2 separate regions of the Homo sapiens genome follow, and region 1 is linked to region 2. Evidence: promoter capture Hi-C in 16 types of primary human blood cells and fetal thymus (Javierre and others, 2016). All regions are on one chromosome and are shown on one strand. Each heading gives the region's core, a stretch centred on a gene start or on the middle of the fragment in contact. The rest is flanking DNA. Distances are from core to core; before and after follow the strand shown.

Region 1 (5,340 bases), core at 884-3,383, 260 kb before region 2:
AACAGCCTGGCCAACATGGTGAAACCCTGTCTCTACTAAAAATACAAAAATTATCCAGGCGTGGGGGTGGGTACCTGTAATCCCAGCCACTTGGGGGGCTAAGGCAGAAGAATCACTTGAACCCAGGAAGCTATGGCTGCAGTGAGCTGAGATCACACCACTGCACTCCAGCCTGGGTGACAGAGCAAGACTCCATCTCAAACCAAAAAAAAGAAGGAAATTATAGAAGAACAGTGAAATCATTTTTTTCATTAAAAACAAAACAAAACATATATATATATATATATATATATATATATATATATATATATATATATATATATATATATTTAGACAGGATCTCTTTTTGTCACCCAGGCTGGAGTGCAGTGGTACAGTCATAGCTCACTGTAACCTCAGACTCCTGGGTTCAAGCAGTCTTCCTGCCTCAGTCTCAGTAGCTGGAATGTAGACATGCACCGCGATGCCTGGCTAATTTCTTTACACTTTTTTGTAGAAATGGGGCCTCACTGTGTTGCCCAGGTTGATCTCAAACTCCTGGCCTTTATGCTCCTACCTTGGCCTCCCAAAACGTTGGGATTATAAATATATATATATATATAAACATATATATAAAATATGTTTTTATATATGTTTATACATATTTATATATTGTGTATGCTTATATGTGTAATATATATGTTTTTTCTATATATTTTTTTTTTGAGACAGAGCCTCGCATTGTCGCCTGGGCTGGAGTGCAGTGGTGCAGTCTCAGCTCACTGCAACCTCCACCTCCGGGGTTCACGCAATTCTCCTGCCTTAGTCTCCCGAGTAGCTGCGATTACAGGCGCACACCACCATACCCACCTAATTTTCTGTATTTTTAGTAGAGACGGGGTTTCACTATGTTGGACAGACTGGTCTCGAACTACTGACCTCATGATCCGCCCGCCTCGGCCTTCCACAGTGCTGGGATTACAGGCATGAGTCACTGCACTGGCCCATTAAAAATAATTTTATTCACATTTTCATATTGGAAAATTAGAAAAATATAAACAAAAATACTCAAATCCTACTACCCAGGGATTGTTACTATGATTGCCTTGATGTGGATCCTTGCAGACCTTTCCGTGTGTGTGTGTATTTGTGTGTGTAAGTGTGTGTATGGTTTACATACACACACATATATGCACACATATCTACACACCTTTTTTCCTAAAAAATAGAGCTGTATGTATCTGTTCACATAAATCTATACATATCTTTTTACAAAAATGTTGATATTCTTTGCATGTTCTTTTGTAATTTTTTAGAGTGTGTTATATTCACGAATATCCTTATTTAGTGTTGTAAAAATATGCCGTAATTGGCTGGGTGCAGTGGCTCACACCTCCAATCCCAGCACTTTGGGAGGCTGAGGCATGCAGGTCACTTGAGGTCAGGAGTTCTAGACCAGCCTGGCCAACATGGTGAAACTCCGTCTCTACCAAATACAAAAATTAGCCGGGCGTGGTGGCGCATGCCTGTAATCCCAGCTACTTGGGAGGCTGAGGCAGGAGAATCACTTGAACCCAGGAGGCGGAGGTTGCAGTGAGCTGAGATTGTGCCACTGCACTCCTCCAGCCTGGGTGAACAGAGCAAGACTCCATCTCAAAAAAAAAAAAAAAAAAAGCCGTAATTTTAACCCACCCCTCATTCTTGGACATTTAGATTGTTTCCAATTTTATACCATTATAACCTTGCTTTAAACATAGCATTTTGGAAATAATCACAATTCTGTGATTGCTTTCTGGGCTTATTTCGTTCAGGGAGCCGGAATGCTTCATGTTTTATCTCATTTCTTCTAATGCTTTCCTGGGCCAAAAGAAGTGTTCTTTGCTCAAAGGAACTGAGGCCTAGGGAGGTAGAGTCTTTGTGTCTCACCCCTAGCAAATAAGTAGTTAGGCCTGTGGGTTAGAAGCTTCCTGTCTTATATTGTGATCTTTTCTCTAAGTTGTGTCCTTTTTAAATTCTTACCTTCTCTCCTCTGACCCAAATAAGAAATTGTGACATCTCTTAAAAGTGAGTCATGTCTGTGTCATCTGTTTGGATTTGATTATTAAAAATAAATTCTCACAATTGCTTGTAAGCCAGCCACTGTTCTATAACTTAATCCAAATTTCAGAATCCTAGGAAGAATTCTAGAAATGTTCTTACCATGTATTCAGACAGGCTTGTTTTAAAATGTTCTTTGTGTAGTTTTTTCAAGACTCCTAAGTTCCTAAGAAGTTTTGTTGTAAAGACTTAAATCACCCTTAATTTTACATATTATTCTTATGATTTCTTAGATTTGTCAAAGCTTTTTGACAAATTTATTATATACTAGTTCCATTGCACATGCTATTTATTTCTGTCATCAAAGTGTACCTTCAGAATTTTCTTTTCAAAATGTCTATTACTATTTTGCTTTTAGTTGGGAGCCCAGCATTTGCCTAAAGAAGTTAATCCAATACTGAATTTTTTGTTTGTGCTCGACAGATGTCCAGATTAACATAAAGCGTTGTCTTAGCGATGGCTGCGACACTAGAATTCATGGTCTCAGGGCTGTTGGCTTTCAGAGAGTTAAGAAGTCTGGGGTCTCAGTCTCAGATGCTTCTGCAATATGGTATTGGTCTCTGCTGACATCTCTGGTGACGGCTTCTATGGAGACAAATCCCGCCTTTGTCCAGACAGTGCTGCACAATACTCAGTAAGTCATTCTCTCTATGTTCCAGCCCCCTCAACATGCCCTCATTCTCCCATCATCCTTTAGGGCGTATCACTGAGCAGCCTTCCATCATTGATCGTTGTGGCTCAGTCAGCTCGGCCTCAGGTGCCCTAGTGTTTCCTGTTCGTGCCACTCAGCTCCACAGTGTATCTCTCTTTGATTGACGTTCTGACTTTACAGACTGAAAAAGTGCCCATTCCACCTTCCTGCTCCTCGTCACACAGTTCCTACAGTGTTCTTCATCAGCTCACTAAGTGGACCAGTCTTGTGAGGAGGTCACTTATGCTGTGCCTGTTCCTTGTCCATTGGGAAGTAATTGCTCATGTTTCTATAGGATTTGATGTTGGATAAAGCCCTTTCAGATGCAGTCTATTATTTTACCTACTGACACTGAAGTGTACCTGTGAAAATCACCCCATTTTATAGACGCAGATGTTGTGACCTTTCCTGAAGTCACAAGACCAGGCTGCAGTAATGGATCAGTTGAGGGCTCTTTCCACGAATGAGTGAAATCTTTTCAGGGTACTAAATTAATTTCTTTTGAAATGTAGAGTACTTTTGAAAAAAAATCATTAGGGCAAAAAGACCAAATAGTAACATATAAGACAAATACAACCAGCTATAGCAGCACTGAAATATTAGTATTGTGCAGATTCAGTAACTGATAATAGGTACCTATAGTGTAGGCGGTGAGAGTATCAGCCAAAAAGAGATTGCTAATATTTTGTTCTCTAGACATCTTTTGAGATTTGTTAGCACTATTGAGTAAAACTGTTAGCAAATAACACTGCTGCTCTGAAGGTTAATAGTTGGCCATACCTTGTTCTTTCTTCCTGTTGTAGCATGTATTCTCACTAAATTATTTCATACTTAGAGAAGCACTGCAAGTTTACATTTAACAAATAATTTTTATTTCTTCCTCAGTCATTAGAGAGTAATTTGCCTGCCTGTGCCCCATCGTTCCTGCTGCTTTAGTGTGTATTTCCTGTAAACAAGAACATTTACTGACAACCATTGAAATCAGGAAATCCACATTGGTGTACATTGCTATGTTGCCACCATCTCATCCTCAGACTCCCTGCAAGTTTTGCACGTTGCCCCAGTCACGCCCCTTACAGCAAAAGGATCCAGCGAAACACTCTGCATTTCTTTGTCCTTTCTCTTTAGTTTCCTTCATTCTGAAACAATTCCTCAGTATTTCCTTGACTTTCCTCAGTATTTCCTTGACCCTGATACTTTTGAAAATTACAGGTCAGTTATTTTGAAGAGTGTCCTTCAATTCTGGTTTATTTGATGTTTTATTGTGATCAGATTGAGGTTTTGTTATCTGTCTCTAGCAGGAATATCATAGAAGTGATGCTTTGTTCTCATTGCATCCCATTGGGTTGCACACAACTTCAGATAGTCCTCATTCTAATGCAGTCTTGTTAACTTTGATCACTTGATTAAAGTGGTTTTTGCCAGACTTTTCCATTGTAAAATAAATATTTTTCACTTCATAATTAATAAATACGTTGAAGGCGGTACTTTGAGACTATGTAAATATCGTATTCCTCATCAAAACTTTATGTTAGTGGATTCCTCTTTTATGCACTAGATTATAGTCAGCCACAGTTTTGATGCTTATGTTATCCTGGAGTTGGCTGGTGGCAACCCCTGCAGTCTGGCTTGTGTGTCCTTTTGACATGTCTCATTATTCTCGGAATGCTTCCATATGTTCTGACACAAGATATTCCAGGCTTATCTTGAATGTTCCCTGCATTAGTCCTGGAATCAGCCATTTTTCTGAATCAGGGGCTCTTTAGGTGGAGATCCACCCACCTCGGTCTCCCAAAGTGCAGAGATTACAGGCATGAGCCACCATGCCCAGCCTATTTCTTTATTTGTGACTGCCTTCTCTGATACTAAGAAACTTGCTTCCCATGATCCTTAATACATTTTTTGTACTTACTCAGTTCGCCTCTATGTAACCAGTGTCCCATTGCCCCTGCCCTTGCATGGACACCCTCCCTATCCCATTCCTGCTCCAGCATCTTTTGCAGAGCTGCTGCTGTGGCCATCCTTGCACAGATGCCCTTCTTATCTTCCTCGAGTTCCTATACCCTGTGCCAGGCCACCCTTCTTGCCTCACTTGGTGCCTGCATTCCATATCAGGCCGTACCTTTGTGAAGACACCTTTCTCACCCTGCTCAGGCTCTAAAACCTCACTGTAGGCCACCATGACGACTCCCCCTTACTCCCCAGACACATACAAATGTCTGCACTGCACAGTCCCATCTTGTGGACTGGATTTTCAGGAAAAGGAAGAGGTTTCTATATTTTTTTTGAAGATGTGGCAAGTGGTTGAAGAATGGACAGATTTTAAAGTCTGTGTCCCTGCTCAGTTTTACTAGTTCATCTGCAATGATATTTTCATGCACTCCTGCCTTTTTAAGATTAGTGATCTAAATCTATTTTAAAATTAAAGATTTATTGAAAAAATATCAATGAGGAAAAATAGGTAAGGAAAAGAATATTTTGGGACAGAAGTGTTGCCTGTATCAGTGGAAATAAATTCAGTAAATGATCGCATGCTACTTGTGTGCATTAAACCTCACTGATCAGCTGCATCT
Region 2 (5,675 bases), core at 746-3,245:
TCCTGGTGTCCATAGCTGAGGAGGGATTACTTCCTCCTCTCCCATCCCCTAACCCCACAGGCCTAGTAATGGTGGGGGCTGTGACTCTTACCTATAGCTGGCCACCCCAACTACACATTTTGTTTGAAATTAAACACACACACACACACACACCCGTACATATTCTATGTATGCATTCAACCCATTTTTTTTTTTTTTTTTTGGAGACGGAGTCTCGCTCTGTCGCCCAGGCTGGAGTGCAGTGGTATGATCTCGGCTCACTGCAACCTCCACCTCCCGGGTTCAAGTGATTCTCCTGCCTCAGCCTCCCAAGTAGTGCATGCCACCATGCCCGGCTAATTTTTTTTTTTTAGTAGAGACACGGTTTCACCATGTTAGCCAGGATGATCTCGATCTCCTGACCTCATGATCTGCCCGCCTTGGCCTCCCAAAGTGTTGGGATTACAGGCATGAGCCACCGTGCCCGGCCTCAACCCAATTTTTAAAAGTACTTTGTGTCCCATTCATCAAATAAAACTAGTCCTCTAAAGAGCTCTGTCTTGTGTTTATCCTGTGGTTTAGCCCAAATTTAAGAAAAACTGTGATGTACTGCACCCCTTCTGTTGGACCCTGTATCTACATATAAATTATCACATTTAACCCTCACAACCTCCTTTGTAGGTAGGTAATGGTCCATTTTACTGATGAAGGAACTGAGACTCCAAAGTGCTAAGCAGCTTGCCTAAGGTCACACATGGTGGATGGGGCCCGGCCAGCCAGCTCGAAACCCAGGTGTGTCTGATGCTGACCATGCTCTTCCTTGGTTTATCATTATTTGCTCCTCCATGGTCAGAGCTGGTAGGGCCTCAGGGCCTCAGAGACTGTAGGGTCTCACCTATGCCCTCCTCAGATGGGAAAACAGACCCAAAAACCTGTCCAAGGTTACCCAGGGAGGAAGATGCAAAATCAGGACTCAGGCCGGGCGCGGTGGCTCATGCCTGTAATCCCAAGACTTTGGGAGGCCGAGGCGGGTGGATCGCTTGAGGTTAGGAATTCGAGACCAGCTTAGTCAACATGGTGAAACCCTGTCTCTACAAAAAAAAAAAAAAAAAAGAAAGAAAGAAAGAAAGAGGAGAGGGAGGAAGGAAGGAAAAGAGAAAGAAAGAAAAGAAGAAAGAAAGGAAGGAAGAAAGGAATAAAGAAAGAAAGAAAGAAAGAAAAAGAAAATCAGGACTCAGAACAGCAGCTGATCAGTGACACCCTCGGGACGCGTAGACAACCCCTCTCCCCCACCAGGCTCTCGTTAGAAATATCCGCCGGAAACTATGCTCACAGGTCTACAGTGGATGGCACCCTCAGGAGTCAGGAAATCGGCGTCCAAGTTCTGGCCTTTGGGCAGGTCTCTCCCTCTTGGAGTCTCAATTTTTGTGTATGTAACATGGGCCAATTTTGGGGAGACTTTTAAGAGACAAAGACTGGCAAGGCAAGTAACTTTATAAACCTACAGATTGTCCAGAGGTGATATATCAAGGCTCATTGTAAACTCTGGAAGACTTAGATCCAGCTTTTATCCCTTAAATGGCGTCACCTTGGGTCAATTTCTATGCCTCAGTTTCCTCATATATGAAATGGGGGTCAAAATAGGATCTACTTCATAGAGTTGTTCTAAGGGTTCGAGCGCTTGGAAGTGTCTGGCCCATAGTGATCACTCAGGAAAGTTGGCTTTTAGTACAGCTTTAGCCTCAAGGCGTAGCTACATTGTAACCCTTGACTACCCCGGTCTCCTCCAAGCTCCGTAGTTCCCGCAGGCCCCGCCCCCGTCCCCGCTCAGTCCCGCCTTCTCCTCCCCAGGTCCCGCCCGCGCAGCCGGCCCGGTTTTCTCCCGCCACCAGGGGGCGGCGGCGCTAAGGGCGGCCTTCTGGGCCGAAGCCGGCGACGCTCTAGGTAGCTGCGGCGGCTCCTCTGTGGCCAGTGGCAGCGGCGCTCTAGCCGGCGGCCGTGAGGGGCGGGCTCTCAGTGGTGCGGCCGGCAGGCAGCGATGGCGGCCGTACGGGGCCTGCGGGTGTCGGTGAAGGCGGAGGCCCCGGCGGGGCCGGCCCTGGGGCTCCCGTCCCCTGAGGCGGAGTCCGGTGTTGACCGTGGCGAGCCGGAGCCCATGGAGGTGGAGGAGGGCGAGCTGGAAATCGTGCCTGTGCGGCGCTCGCTCAAGGAACTGATCCCGGTACGGGCGGGGGTCGGGGGGTAAGGAAGAGGTCGCGGGGCTAGTGTCTAGCGCCGGAGGGGGCCGGAAGGGGCGGTGGCCGGAGCCCCAGCCGGGGAAGTCAAGGGAGCGGGAGAGGAGGGAGCCAGCGTCCTGGGAACGGGAACGCCGGGCTGGAGGAGGGACGCGGAGCGGGAGAAAGGACGCCGGGGCGCCGGAAATGGGTGTTGAGGGGGCTGGGGGGTGGTGGCGGAGAGCTGGGAGGGAGTTGAGGACCCCCCTCCGCTGCCCCCTCTGAGCCGCGCTGTGCAAGGAGGTGAGTGAGGAGGGGCTGGAAGGATGAGATAAAGGGGGAGCCCTGGGCGGGAACAGAACCAGGGGCAGCCCAGAAGGAGCTGTTGGGTGGCGCCAGCAACCAGGTCTCCTTGTGGGTCTTGCCCCGGAGGAATTTGTATCTGGGAAACATGGCACTCGCTCTTTGTCTTGAGAGGGCTGCACTTGTCAGCAGCAGAAACTCACTGTTTCTGTCGTGACTTCGGGGTCATCTTGCCCCCCCCGCAGCTCCAGTGACACCTACACCGTGGCCCCAGCATCTGACTCTTAATGAAAGCAAACTAGCAGACGACCAATAGACATCCTTGGTCCCTCCTTTACCGCGCTGGGGATGGTGAGAGGTGTTTTGCTTGTGACTTGGTGGCTGTATATCCAGTTCTCAGAGCTGGTTTCAGGCCTGGATGACTCCTCTTAATTTCTCACCTAACATGAATTACTTTTGACCACATGTCAACATATTTAGACTGAAGTTATGGAGAAAGGTTAAAGTATGATCGCTAGAGATGGCAAACGTTATAATTATGATTAACAACAGCTAATATAGTAGCATTTACCATTCACTATATTGTGTCACTTAAATATACTGGCCGTGCACGCCTTTAGTGCCAGCTATTCAGGAGTCTAAGTTCCAGACCAGCCTCAGCAATATAGCAAGACCCCTTTGAGGTCCCCCCTTTCCCCTCTCCCCATCTCAAAAACAAAACCAAAATAAATAAATATTACTGCAGTTGTGAAGCAGGTGTTATCATCCCTTTAGTCATTCAGTTCAACATGGTTTTTGTTTTGTTTTGTTTTGAGACGGAGTTCGCTCTTGTTGCCCAGGCTGGAACGCAATGGCGCGATCTCGGCTCACCGCAACTTCCGCCTCCCGGGTTCAAGCCATTCTCCTGCCTCAGCCTCCTGAGTAGCCAAGTACAATGGCCTGATCTTGGCTCACCGCAACCTCCGCCTCCTGGGTTCAAGCTACTCTTCTGCCTCAGCCTCCCAAGTAGTTGAGATTACAGGGATGTGCCACCGTGCCCGGCTAATTTTGTATTTTTAGTAGAGACGGGGTTTCTCCATGTTGGCCAGGCTGGTCTCGAACACCTGACCTCAGGTGATCCGCCCGCCTCTGCCTCCCAAAGTGCTGGGATTACAGGCCTGAGCCATTGCGTCCGGCCAACATGTATTTATTGCATCCCCCGCTATGTACCAAGGCACAGCCCTAGGTGCTTGATCAAGCTCAACCTCCCTCCTGGAGTTTATGTTCCATATAAACTCTAAATGACAAAAAGCCAATCTTGTGAAGATTGAAAAGGAGTTCCCCCAGCAGGGCCAGTAACAAGCACAGAGGCTCTGGGATGGGTCCAGGATTGTTGGAAACTTCTGTAGTACTAATGGAAGGGCAGTAAAAGAGGTCAGGAAGGCAGGTAGATACCACAGAGGAAACTGAGACCCAGAGAGGTCAAGAAAACTATACAGTGTCCTGTAATTAGTGACTGTCAGAGCTGAGGCTTCAGTCCTCGCTTGGTTTCCAAATCCCATCCCCTTTGCATTGCACTGTGCTGTATTTGCCTCAGGAGTTCTAGGTGAGGCTGGACCTTCTGCGTTGAGGTGGAGGGTTGTGCTCCACCTGGTGGCTGGGCATGAGGAATTCGTTCAGACTGGGTTGGGGAGCTAAGTGACTGTGCCTTATCTTTTGACATTTTCCACAAAAGCCTTTAGATTTTCTTTACATGGATACTTGGAGTTGATGGAATCACTTCAGTTTTTGGACAGGCTCTGATCTTCTTATTGGAGTGGTTGATTGATACCATGGAATCACTAGGATGGGGCTTCTTAATAAAAGGTTGTCAGGGGTGGGGAAGGGTTTTGAAAAGAGTGGCTATTCAAAAAGAACCAGACTTGCCAGGTGTGGTGGCTCATGCCTGTATCCCAGCACTTTGGGAGGCTGAGACAGACGGATCACCGAGGTCAGGAGTTTGAGACCAGTATGCCAACATGGTGAAACCTCGTCTCTACTAAAAATAAAAAAATTAGCTGGCGGTGGTGGCACATGCCTGTAATCCCAGCTACTCAGGAGGCTGAGACAGGAGAATCGCTTGAACCCAGGAGGTAGAGGTTGCAGTGAGCCGAGTTTGTGCCACTGCACTCCCGCCTAGGCGATAAGAGTGAGACTCCATCTCAAAAAACAAACAGAAAAACAGAAAGAACCAGACTGGTTGTGATGACTCACACATGTGATCCTAACACTTTGGGAGACTGAGGCAGGAGGACTGCTTTAGCCCAGGAGTTGGTGACCAGCCTGGGCAACATAGGGAGACCCTGTCTCTACAAAATAAAAAAAAAATTAGCTGGGCATGGTGGCATATGCCTGAGGGCCCAGCTGAGGGGGAGGATGGCGTGAGCCTGGGGAGTCGAGGCTGCGGTGAGCTGTGATCATTCTACTGCACTCCGGCCTGGGCAACAGAGCAAGACACTGTCACCAACAAAAAAAAAAAAAAAAGGAAAAAAGAACCTGCAGATGTCAGGCCGACTTTTATTATAGGTTTTTCCTCAATTGCTGTCTGAATTTCTCACCCTTCCCCTTTGTGTTAGGACACGAGCAGAAGATATGAAAACAAGGCTGGCAGCTTCATCACTGGAATTGATGTCACCTCCAAGGTAAGACAGGCTATGATTTATTTATTCAGCTTGATAAGCAAGTGAACTTAATGAATTTGATCCCTAGGACATAACAGTAAATATTTCCTCTTTTATTTTGTTGCTGGATTTAAATTTTTTTTCTAAAAAAAATTGTGTTATTGGCCAGGCACGCTGGCTCATGCCTGTAATCCTAGCATTTTGAGAGGCCAAGCAAGTGGATCGTTTAAGCCCAGGAGTTCGAGACCAGCCTGGGCAACATAGTGAGACCCGTCTCTACGAAAGATACAAAAATTAGTCGGGTGTGGTAGCACAGGTCTGTAGTCCCAACTACTCAAGAGGCTGAGGTGGGAGGATCGCTGGAGCCTGAGAGGTTGAGGCTGCACTGAGCTGAAATCGTGCCACTGCACTCCAGTGGGGGCAACAAAAAAAAATTTTGTGTTATACAACGATGTCTTCATGCATCCTGAAACGGTACAGGCAGCATTTGTGTGTTCTTACAGCCATGAAAGGATAAAATCACTCTACTTAGATACCTGTG

Evidence for each region. The method cuts DNA at HindIII sites, captures the fragments that hold promoters and counts their contacts. A CHiCAGO score of 5 or more calls a contact.
Region 1: a fragment that was not itself captured here is called in contact with the fragment with the promoter of NCBP3 in region 2 in 1 of 17 cell types (erythroblasts); the score reaches 5.3 in erythroblasts.

What each region holds. Positions count from the first base shown.
Region 1 is chr17:4,107,023-4,112,362 of GRCh38, reverse strand. It overlaps ZZEF1 (zinc finger ZZ-type and EF-hand domain containing 1), which reads left to right. Exons shown (of 55, transcript NM_015113.4): 6 at 2,500-2,710. Among named protein-coding and RNA genes, the nearest start is that of ZZEF1, 33 kb to the left of the region's middle. The HindIII fragment of the contact is 378 bases long and covers 1,945-2,322 here.
Region 2 is chr17:3,842,566-3,848,240 of GRCh38, reverse strand. It overlaps NCBP3 (nuclear cap binding subunit 3), which reads left to right and starts at 1,995. Exons shown (of 13, transcript NM_001114118.3): 1 at 1,995-2,200; 2 at 5,090-5,155. The coding sequence starts at 2,018. RefSeq lists silencers at 1,707-1,826, 2,007-2,296. The HindIII fragment of the contact is 12,990 bases long and covers 1-5,675 here.